Linked DNA regions of Homo sapiens: all the other regions are linked to region 2. Evidence: promoter capture Hi-C in human tissues and cell types (Jung and others, 2019). All regions are on one chromosome and are shown on one strand. Each heading gives the region's core, a stretch centred on a gene start or on the middle of the fragment in contact. The rest is flanking DNA. Distances are from core to core; before and after follow the strand shown.

Region 1 (3,037 bases), core at 532-3,031, 910 kb before region 2:
TGCCGACTTCAGTGCTGAGGGCTAAAATACATAGATATCTCCAACTCCAACATACATATTTGGAAACTTAGGCAACAGTGCTTTGTGGAAAACTGTGCAACTGCTTAGAGGAGAGAGAATTTTTTGTAATAGGCTGAAAAGAGGCTAACTGTGTATTTCTTCAATGACAGGCAATTCTTGGTGGCAAATGTGATACAGGTGAAGAAGACAGAAACATACAGGCTAGTGCTTCTCCAGAAATACAATTGAAATCAAAATCGCGTGAATATTACCTCTGGGGCCTTTTGTATATCTTAGAAACTCATTAAGTTCTTTGGATAGCATCCATTTAATTTATAAGTATTTACTGAGCACTTAGTATGTGCTTAGCCACTGGGGCACAACACAGAGTCAAAGAGACAAACTCCTGGCACGCCTCAAGCTCCTATCCTCCTGGGGAAAACATACTAAGCAGGATAATGTATAAATAAAGGAGAGAATTTCAGGTAAAGATATAATGAAGCAGGGAAAGGGACAGTGACAAGAGTGCTATTTTTGAAAGGTCAGGAAGCTTTTTAGGGAAAAGTGTCATCTGATCAGGGACCTGGAGTGGGGAAGGGAGCTACACAGAGCTCTTAGGGGAGGGCAGCACAGGAGGTCAGCGAGAGGCAGGCCCTGGGTGGTAGTAGGAATTTCTTATGTTTCTGAAAAGGCAAAGAACATCTTAAAGAAAGCGCTCACAACGTTTGGGATGTTACGGATCTGTGTTGTTGTTTTCATGTTTATAGACTCAGTGCTGTAAATGTATCTCTGTTGCTTACATATTTTAGAATGAATTTCATTTAGGAGTCTAAGTCTACTACGAAGGCACTGCCTTATCTAAATGTCTCTAAACATACCTCCTGCCTATCACAAAGACATAGAATCTCACTCACAAGAGTCAAAGTTGTTCATTCCACCAGGAGAGATAAGGCTGGACCAAAAGCACCCCTGGGTTTAAGTCCACACTCCCCACCACCCCGGCCCCCACCCCCAAGCAGTGACAGACTGTCTTGAACTTCTCGCTGCAAGGGTCATAAAAGGGACAGAGAACAGAGCGACAGAAGATGTCTTCTGCATTCTCAACTTTTAGCCCCAGTTGTTAGAGAACTGGTATCTCCCCTACACGTCTGGCTCTGGTGGAGAAAGAATGACAGCCCCTACTTACAACGAGGAGACTGTGGCTCAGAGAAGTTAGGGGGCTGCCCAGGATCCTGGAGAAAGCCAGCTTTGACTCATAACCCTCGCGCCATTACCTGACTCCCATTAGTGGAGTCAGGAACTCCATGTTCCACTTCAGGAAATGAGCTTGTTGATTTTTCATTTACACAAAAATGAAAAATAAATACCAGATGTTTGAAAACATGTTGCAACACGTCCTGCTGGAACTTAAAAGTGCATTCTGACCAAAAAAATTAAATTAGAAAATCCACATAGCAAAAAAAAAAATGTTTTGGATGAAAATATACTTTATCTTTCTCTCACACATACTCTCTCTCTCTCTCGCACACATACCCACACACACACACACACACACACACGCGCGCGCGAAAACAATATCTCATTTCTTCTTCAGGGAGCAGCTGTGAAGGAAATCGGGGGAGGAGGATGGACACAACATCCCATCTTTGTGTTTCGATACAGACTAAGCTTTTAGGCCAACCCTCCTGACTGGATGGGGGCGGCGGGCGTGGCATGCATGAAAAGTAAACATCAGAGACCTGAAGAAGCTTATAAAATAGCTTGGGAGAGGCCAGTCACCAAGACAGGCATCTCAAATCGGCTGATTCTGCATCTGGAAACTGCCTTCATCTTGAAAGAAAAGGTATGTACTGTAGTTTTAAGCTTTTCATTTATGATAATAATGTCTAAAATAGAAACAGTCTAGACTCTCCATTGCCCCATTTCAGCTACATATAACTACCACTGATTGAGAGCTTGTGCCGGTAGCTTTAGACTTGTTCTCATTTTTCCTCAAACAAATGTACAAGGTAGGTATCATCAGAGCCATTTTTCCAGTGATAAAGCTGAGGTTCAGATACACTAGCAACATGCCTAAGATAAAACCAAACCCAGTGTGAACTCATCCCAGCGTCTTTTGCTTACCCCTCCAAACTGGACAACGAGGTGTTTCCATGCACAAACACCGTCCTAGGTGAATTCTCAGCAAGCTGTCCAACGGTGCATCGCAGTAAAATAATCTGGAAACTGGAATTAATGGTGTGACTAGAAAATGCATTTGACAATATGGCATAAAATATTGTGTTTGGGAGATACGTGTCTTGTTATATTTAATGGCTAAATGAGTCTTTGAGACCTAATGACTTATTGGAACCTATTTTATTTTATGAGGTGAAATTTCAAAATCTAGTCCTTCACGTTCTGCAGATCTTTGAGGTCAGGGGCTGTGTCCCCAGGCACTAAGAGCGCGGGCTTGTGGGAGACCTAGGCTTACATTCTAGCCTGTCCCCAGGCCTAGGCTTACACTGTGGCTTCGTAGTTTACCAGGAAGTAACCCGGGCAAATTCACCTCGTTGGTATGAAGAGAGTGTCAGCAGAGGTCGCCTCCAGAGGAGGTGCTGTGGAGACTGAGCGCATAGCACCCTTAAAATCCTGGGACCAGGGCTTCTCCACGGGTAAGCTTAATGCAAGTGGAGCAGTGATTTCCAGCTAGTGCCAGGCCCAAGGTGGATGCACTGTCACCTTAGTTGGATTGCTTTTTAATTACCTCATATTCTGTTAAAAATCATATTTCTTTTTTTTTTTTTTTGAGACGGAGTCTCACTCTGTCACCCAGGCTGGAGTGCAGTGGCGCGATCTCGGCTCACTACAGCCTCCGCCTCCCAGGTTCAAGCCATTCTTGTGCCTCAGCCTCCCAAGTAGCTGGGATTACAGGACTGCACCACCATGCCCAGCTAATTTTTGTATTTTTTGTTTGTTTGTTTTTGTTTTGTTTTTTTGAGATGGAGTTTTTGCTCTGTTGCCCAAGCTAGAGTGCAATGGTGTGATCTTGGCTTAC
Region 2 (3,256 bases), core at 755-3,254:
TCTGCTAATTCTATTTCGTGGGTCTTCTTCATATCTTACTTCTGGAGATTATGTGTAGGATTTTAAAGATACACTGTTTCTAAATTGAGAAATGGGAGAAATGATGTTCTGATGCATTCCTTTGCTCATCTGTGAGCACTGCCTTCTCAAAGCGTTGCCAACTGCTTCACAGCTTGCCAGCAGTCCCTTGGGCATTTCCCAAAACTCACTTCAATTCAGTAAGAGGGGTAAGGTGCAGCACACAGAAACCCTGGCAGGGAATTCAGAATGGGTGGGAGTCTGGACCCAGTTTCGCCTGATGCTAACTTGCTATGACTGACCTTTAGCCAGTCCACTTCTGTGTCTTCATTTGCACCAGGAAAGAGTGGACTACGCTTGCTACTCAAAGTGTGACCCAAGGACCAGTACTATGGGTATCACCTGGAAGCTTGTTAGAGCCACAGGCCTCACCCCAGAGCTTATGAATCAGAATCTGCATGTTAACAAGATTCCCAGGGGATTTATATGCACATTAAAGTGTGAAAAGCCCTAGGTTAAACAGATTCTTGATCCTATTTATTTCTTTTTGGCTGTTGTTTTAATTGACAACTAAAAATTGTTTATTACTTACGTTGTACCGCATAATGTTTTGATATATGTGTACATTGTGGAATGGCTAAATCAAGCTATGCTAGGTAATATATGCATTACCTCGATCCTATGATTTAAAAATACATGTTTGGCCAGGCGCAGTGGCTCATACCTGTAATCCTAGCACTTTGGGAGGCCGAGGCGGGCGATCACCTGAGGTCAGGAGTTCGAGACCAGCCTGGCCAAAATAGTCAAACCCTGTCTCTACTAAAAATACAAAAATTAGCTGGGTGCGGTGGCACGTGTCTGTAATTCCCGCTACTCGGGAGGCTAAGGCAGGAGAATCACTTGAACCCGGGAAGCAGAGGTTGCAGTGAGCCGAGATCATGCCTTTGCACTCCACCTGGGGGACAGCGAGACTCTGTCTCAAAAGATAAAAATAAATAAATAATACATGTTAACAACCCTCATTCCCCACTCTCCCCAGGGGTGTACAGGCTAGTGACAAGACTTGGGTTTATTCCTGACACTGCACGCACTCAATCTACGACTTGCTCAAGCTGCTTCCTCTCTCCAAGCATCAAAACAAAGAGATGGTTCTCTGGATCAATGAGAATGTAGTTCACCAGCCACTCTAAGCTGACTTTCTATTATTCCCATTATAGGGAAATCAAACATTCAAGTGAGGAACAAAAGCCCAGGCCTCTAGGAGTGGAGCTGGCTCACTGTTTTCACTTTCATTTTAATTATTTTTAAAAAGGGTAATGAAAATATAATTAGAACTGTTTAAACATTTTTTTTTTCTTTGAAATAAAGCGTAAGTCACTTCCTGTTGGCTTTTCCTACAACCTTGCCAAGCTCTGGAAATACTATTCAGCCTCTCATTCCAAATTCACATCCAGGCGAAGACTTTTCTCCCCAGTTCGCAGCTGGGGTCGGCTAGATAAACAAAAAGTTAGTTGCTGTGCTGGACCTCGGAGAGACCACACCTCGGGACGCCAGCAGAAAACCAGCGCTGGGAAACGCCCCCGTCCCAGCGCCACCGAAACACTCTTCCTCCGAGTCTCCGCGTCCTCCTGACGGAAGCAGCGGAAGGCGGAGCTAGTGCCGCGAATAGGAACCGCCATGTTTCCGACGTGCTCTAGTTTCTCGCCGGACGCTAAAGACCGACGCACAAATTAAGAATGGACCATTCTTTTAACTCAGTCATTTATCCAAACTCGAGACATTCGCCAGGAAATCTATCGAAAATTTCCCAGAACCATTTTTTCACTTATATTCTATAATACTGGTAAAATCGAGACGTAAAAGGAGAACTTGAGAACAAGTCATTCTGCTTTCCCCTCTCAAGTTTGAGCCTGAACTACTTGGGCTCGCTTATCGTCACTTCCGGGGATCGAACTGTGAATCCCGGAAACTGCACGCGCCGAGCCGGGAAGCTTCGTCCAGCGGTCGTGTTGCCATGGGCCGGAGGAGAGCCCCGGCCGGTGGGTCGCTGGGACGGGCCCTTATGCGCCATCAGACTCAGCGGAGCCGAAGCCATCGTCACACTGACTCCTGGGTAAGACAGACCATGTCATCTTTCTTATCTTTTCTGTCTAGCCTGAGTGCTGCAAAATTCGGGGTCAAAAGTCAGATAAGTTTTGCAGGAGGGACGCCTCAGCCGGGTTTTGAAGGATGAGTTGGAGTTTCTGCCAAGCTGAGTAGCAGGCCCTCCTCCTGGCAAGGCCCAGAACACAAAGGTAGGAGAAGCTTGAAAGAAGAGTTAGTGTGGTGATGAGGCGTGGAGTGAGAATCTGAAGAGTCTTCAATGCCAGGTCTTGAGTACGTTTGGGTTTTGCCCTAGAAGCCACTGAAGTGCTTGGAACTTCCAGAGCAGGAAAAAGACAAAACGTATTTTTGTATTGATTTGTTCAAAGAATGGATCCTCCAGAAGCGGTTGGTTACTGCCAGAAATATAAAATAATTCAGATCCTTGCCTCATCCTTGCGAAGCACCCCCTAGTGGTTTAGCTCAAAGATAAATCATTGATTTTTCAGGTGTGACAAGACCTAATATTTTACTAGGTTATAGAAGGATCTTTAAAAAAATGAATGAAGTGATTTGGCTTGTGTTCATCATTCTAGTCGTTATTTTCACCATTCATTCCCCCGGGAATGAATGAGAACATGTTGAGTGCTAAGATCGTGTGCTAAATTTAGTTAAATATGTCCCTGGAGCTAAGTAAGCGTGTGCCACTGTCACACCAGCTGACTTTCATCCATATAGTCTGCAGAGTAAACAGCATGGAGTGCTTATCAGTATTCATCAGGTCAGAGTTACTCTGGACATTAGATTACTGGTAATTTTTATTAGCTTTGAAGCAACTTGTTACTAATGAAGCCTTTTAGGAAACTGTGGGAAGATTGAACATGAATGGTAAAGAATTGGATCCTAATTCCTTATTTTTGCTGATTCTATGCCCACTTAAACTTTTGGCCCTTAATATTTATTTAGGAAATTCATTCATCATTCAGTTATTCATTTTTAGAGACAGGGTCACACTCTGTCACCCAGGCTAGAGTGCCAGTGGTGTGATCATAACTCACCAATTCACTACAGTCTCAAACTTCTGGGCACAAATAATCCCCCTGCCTCAGTCTCTTGAGTAGCTGGCATTACAGGTGCACACCATCAGGCCTGGTTG
Region 3 (3,169 bases), core at 291-2,790, 770 kb before region 2:
GAGGCCTGGGCTTGTTTTTTGGTAGTAAGGCAGCTGCACTTGTGTCCTGATCTATTGGGCTGTCTTTAAATTAATACGTGTCTTTATTCATAAATGAATCTTGTGGCATTTAAGTCTAGTGTGTGCACATAACTGTCTTGGTGCTGTAGAATTAATGCAAAAGGCACATCTTGCTGATGAAAATTTCACCACTGTTCAAGCTTTAAACATCTATTTTCCTGTTAAATCAATGAGGAGAATACAAGGGGACTGGTTGAAATAGGGAGAAGGATGTTGCATTTGCAACATTGTCTTTTGTAATTTGAATAGTCAATGGTTACTTTTACATCCCAGTGAACATTTTTTTTTTGTTTTGGATTGGAGGGCACATTTCGTTGTATAATTTTGGGTTCCCTTTTTGGTTTTTTAAATACCAGTTTAAAATCAGCTTAAAGGTCAAAATCTTGTTCATCTAAAATCTAAAAACCTTGTTCATCTAAAAATCTACAGGAATGTAAAGTGCCTAAGTATACTTTTTTTTGAGTGGAAATTTTGCATTTTGGCCAAAATATGTTGAAGTTGGAATTTGTTTGGGCCCTTAATTGTATGTAGTTGCATGTAGTAGGTCTTTAAAATTTTACAAAACCTCCGTAAAAGTACTGCTTTTCTTTTACTTAAACATACTCTTGGGCTGAACACTGTGGCTCACATCTGTAATCCCAGCACTTTGGGAGGTGGAGGACGGCGGATCACTTAAGGTCAGGAGTTTGACACCAGCCTGGCCAACATGGTAAAACCCCATCTCTACTAAAAATACAAAAATTAGCCGGGTGTGGTAGTGTGCACCTGTAATCCCAGCTACTTGGGAGACTGAGGCATGAGAACTGCTTGAACCTGGGAGGCAGAGGCTGTAGTGAGCTGAGGTTGTGCCACTGTACTCCAGCCTGGGCAACAGAGCGAGACTGTCTCAAAAACAAAAAAAACAAAAAAAACAAAAAAACCCAAAATGTATTCTGTTTTACTTAGGAAGTGAATATCTATTTGAAATAAAAAGTAGAATAAATAAATTGAATAAATAAACATCTTTCTGAATTATGAAAGATTTTTGTCAGCAGTGTTCAAGTATAAAAATATTGTGGCCAGGTGCAGTGGTTCATGCCTGTAATCCCAGCAGTTTGGAAGGCTGAGACAAGAGGATCGCTTGAGGCCAGGAGTTTGAGACCAGCCTGGGCAACAAAGTGAGACACCGTCTCTACAAAAATAAAAAAATTAGTTGGGCATGGTGGCGTGCATCTGTGATTCCAGCTACATGGGAAGCTGAGGCAGGAGGTCAAGGCTGCAGTGAGTTATGTTCACACCTCTGCACTCCAGCCTGGGCAACAGAGCTAGACTCTCTCTCTCTCTCTTAAAAAAAAAAAAAAAAAGGCCTTAGCCTTGGTATGCTTTAGTTTTTATCTGATAATTTATTTTTATCCTTTAACAATGTCTATCATACACCATCCTGCAGGTTTTTCATTTTTAGATTCTATTTCAGATATGATTCTTTTTTTTTTTGAGATAGAGTTCTGCTCTTGTTGCCCAAGCTGGAGTGCAATGGCACGATGTCGGCTCACTGCACCCTCCGGCTCTTGGGTTCAAGCAGTTCTCCTGCCTCAGCCTCCCGAGTAACTGGGATTATAGGCGTGCACCTCCACGCCTGGCTAATTTTTTGTATTTTTAGTAGAAACGGAGTTTCACCATGTTAGCCAGGCTGGTCTCGAACTCCTGACCTCAGGTGATCCGCCCGCCTCAGCCTCCCAAAGTGCTGGGATTACAGGCATAAGCCACCATGCCCGGCTAGATACGATTCTTGTTCAGTAACTTAGAATAACTTTTTTTTTAAAAAGGGTGTTTGTGGGTGAATTATGTTTGAGAGACAGAGTCTTACTTGTTATCCAGGCTGTTCTCCAACTCCTGGACTCAGGTGATTCTCCTGCCGCAGCCTCCTGAGTAGCTGGGATTACAGGTATGAGTCACCATGCCCAGTCAGGTGAAAGGTTTTAATGGGCGAAAGACATTGGAATAAAATGTGACTACTAAATACACCTCAGTTATGTGTTGCTATTAAGTCTGGATTGGTGCCAATCTTGTCTCCTTCCTTTGCCTTCCATCTTTATAATAAACTTTTAGCAACTGCCTGTTAATACAGTGGGTAAGGGCTGAGGGGAAATTTTTTTTTTTTTTAATCTCAGAAGCAGTAGAATGGAATTATAAAGTAATTTTATTATGAACCAAAATACAGGAATCCTGACTGGGTGTGGTGGCTCAAACCTGTAATCCTAGCACTTTGGGAGGCTGAGGTGGGCAGATCAGTTGAGGTCAGGAGTTCGAAACCAGCCTGGCCAGCATGGTGAAACACCATCTCTACTAAAAATACAAAAAAATTAGGTGGGCGTGATGGTGGGCACCTGTAATCCCAGCTACTCGGGAGGCTGAGGCAGGAGAATTGCTTGAACCTGGGAGGCAGAGGTTGCAGTGAGCTGAGATTGCGCCACTGCACTCCAGCCTGGGGGACAGAGTGAGACTCCATCTCAAAAAAAAAAAAAAGAAAATTCTTGCAGGTGGGGCGCAATGGCTTACATTTGTAATCCCAGCACTTTGTGAGGTCGAGGTGGAAGGATTGCCTGAGACCAGCCTGGGCAACATAGAGACCTTGTCTCTAATTTTAATGAAAAAAAAAAAAAAAAAAAAGCATGTAAAGTAGGACTTATCCTCATTTTAAAAATGTGGGTTTTTTTTTGCTTTTTTTTTTTTTTTTTTTTGAGACAGAGTCTCACACTGTCGCCCAGGCTGGAGTGCAGTGGTGCAATCTCCACTCACTGCAACCTCCACCTCCCTGGTTCAGGTGATTCTCCTGCCTCAGCCTCCCGAGTAGCTGGGATTACAGGCGCCTGCCACCACACCTGGCTAATTTTTTATATTTTTAGTAGAGACGGGGTTTCACTATGTTGGCCAGGCTGGTCTTGAACTCCTGACCTTGTGATCCACCAGCTTCGGCCTCCCAAAATGCTGGGATTGCAGGTGTGAGCCACCTCGACCAGACTCAAAAATGTTTTAAAAAATCCGGAAAAATCTGCAACTGGACATTTTGATAGATTAATTGACTTTTTAAAAATAGTTACTTCTTTTGCTAGTAATTGACTTTCTTAAT

The links. The method cuts DNA at HindIII sites, captures the fragments that hold promoters and counts their contacts. A contact is called where the count stands out against the background at its distance.
Region 1: a contact is called between the fragment with the promoter of APOD here and the fragment with the promoter of LSG1 in region 2, in 4 of the 25 tissues and cell types used here (dorsolateral prefrontal cortex, hippocampus, mesenchymal stem cells and 1 more).
Region 3: a contact is called between a fragment that was not itself captured here and the fragment with the promoter of LSG1 in region 2, in 2 of the 25 tissues and cell types used here (dorsolateral prefrontal cortex and hippocampus).

What each region holds. Positions count from the first base shown.
Region 1 is chr3:195,582,684-195,585,720 of GRCh38, reverse strand. APOD (apolipoprotein D) reads left to right here and starts at 1,781. Exons shown (of 5, transcript NM_001647.4): 1 at 1,781-1,843. RefSeq lists an enhancer at 2,161-2,330. The HindIII fragment of the contact is 4,834 bases long and covers 1-2,261 here.
Region 2 is chr3:194,670,939-194,674,194 of GRCh38, reverse strand. LSG1 (large 60S subunit nuclear export GTPase 1) reads left to right here and starts at 2,004. Exons shown (of 14, transcript NM_018385.3): 1 at 2,004-2,131. The coding sequence starts at 2,033. It overlaps LOC124909474, which reads left to right. Exons shown (of 3, transcript XM_047449428.1): 3 at 1-531. The HindIII fragment of the contact is 4,871 bases long and covers 1-2,166 here.
Region 3 is chr3:195,437,426-195,440,594 of GRCh38, reverse strand. All of the region lies in intron 1 of ACAP2 (ArfGAP with coiled-coil, ankyrin repeat and PH domains 2), which reads left to right. Among named protein-coding and RNA genes, the nearest start is that of ACAP2, 4.0 kb to the left of the region's middle. The HindIII fragment of the contact is 4,179 bases long and covers 1-3,169 here.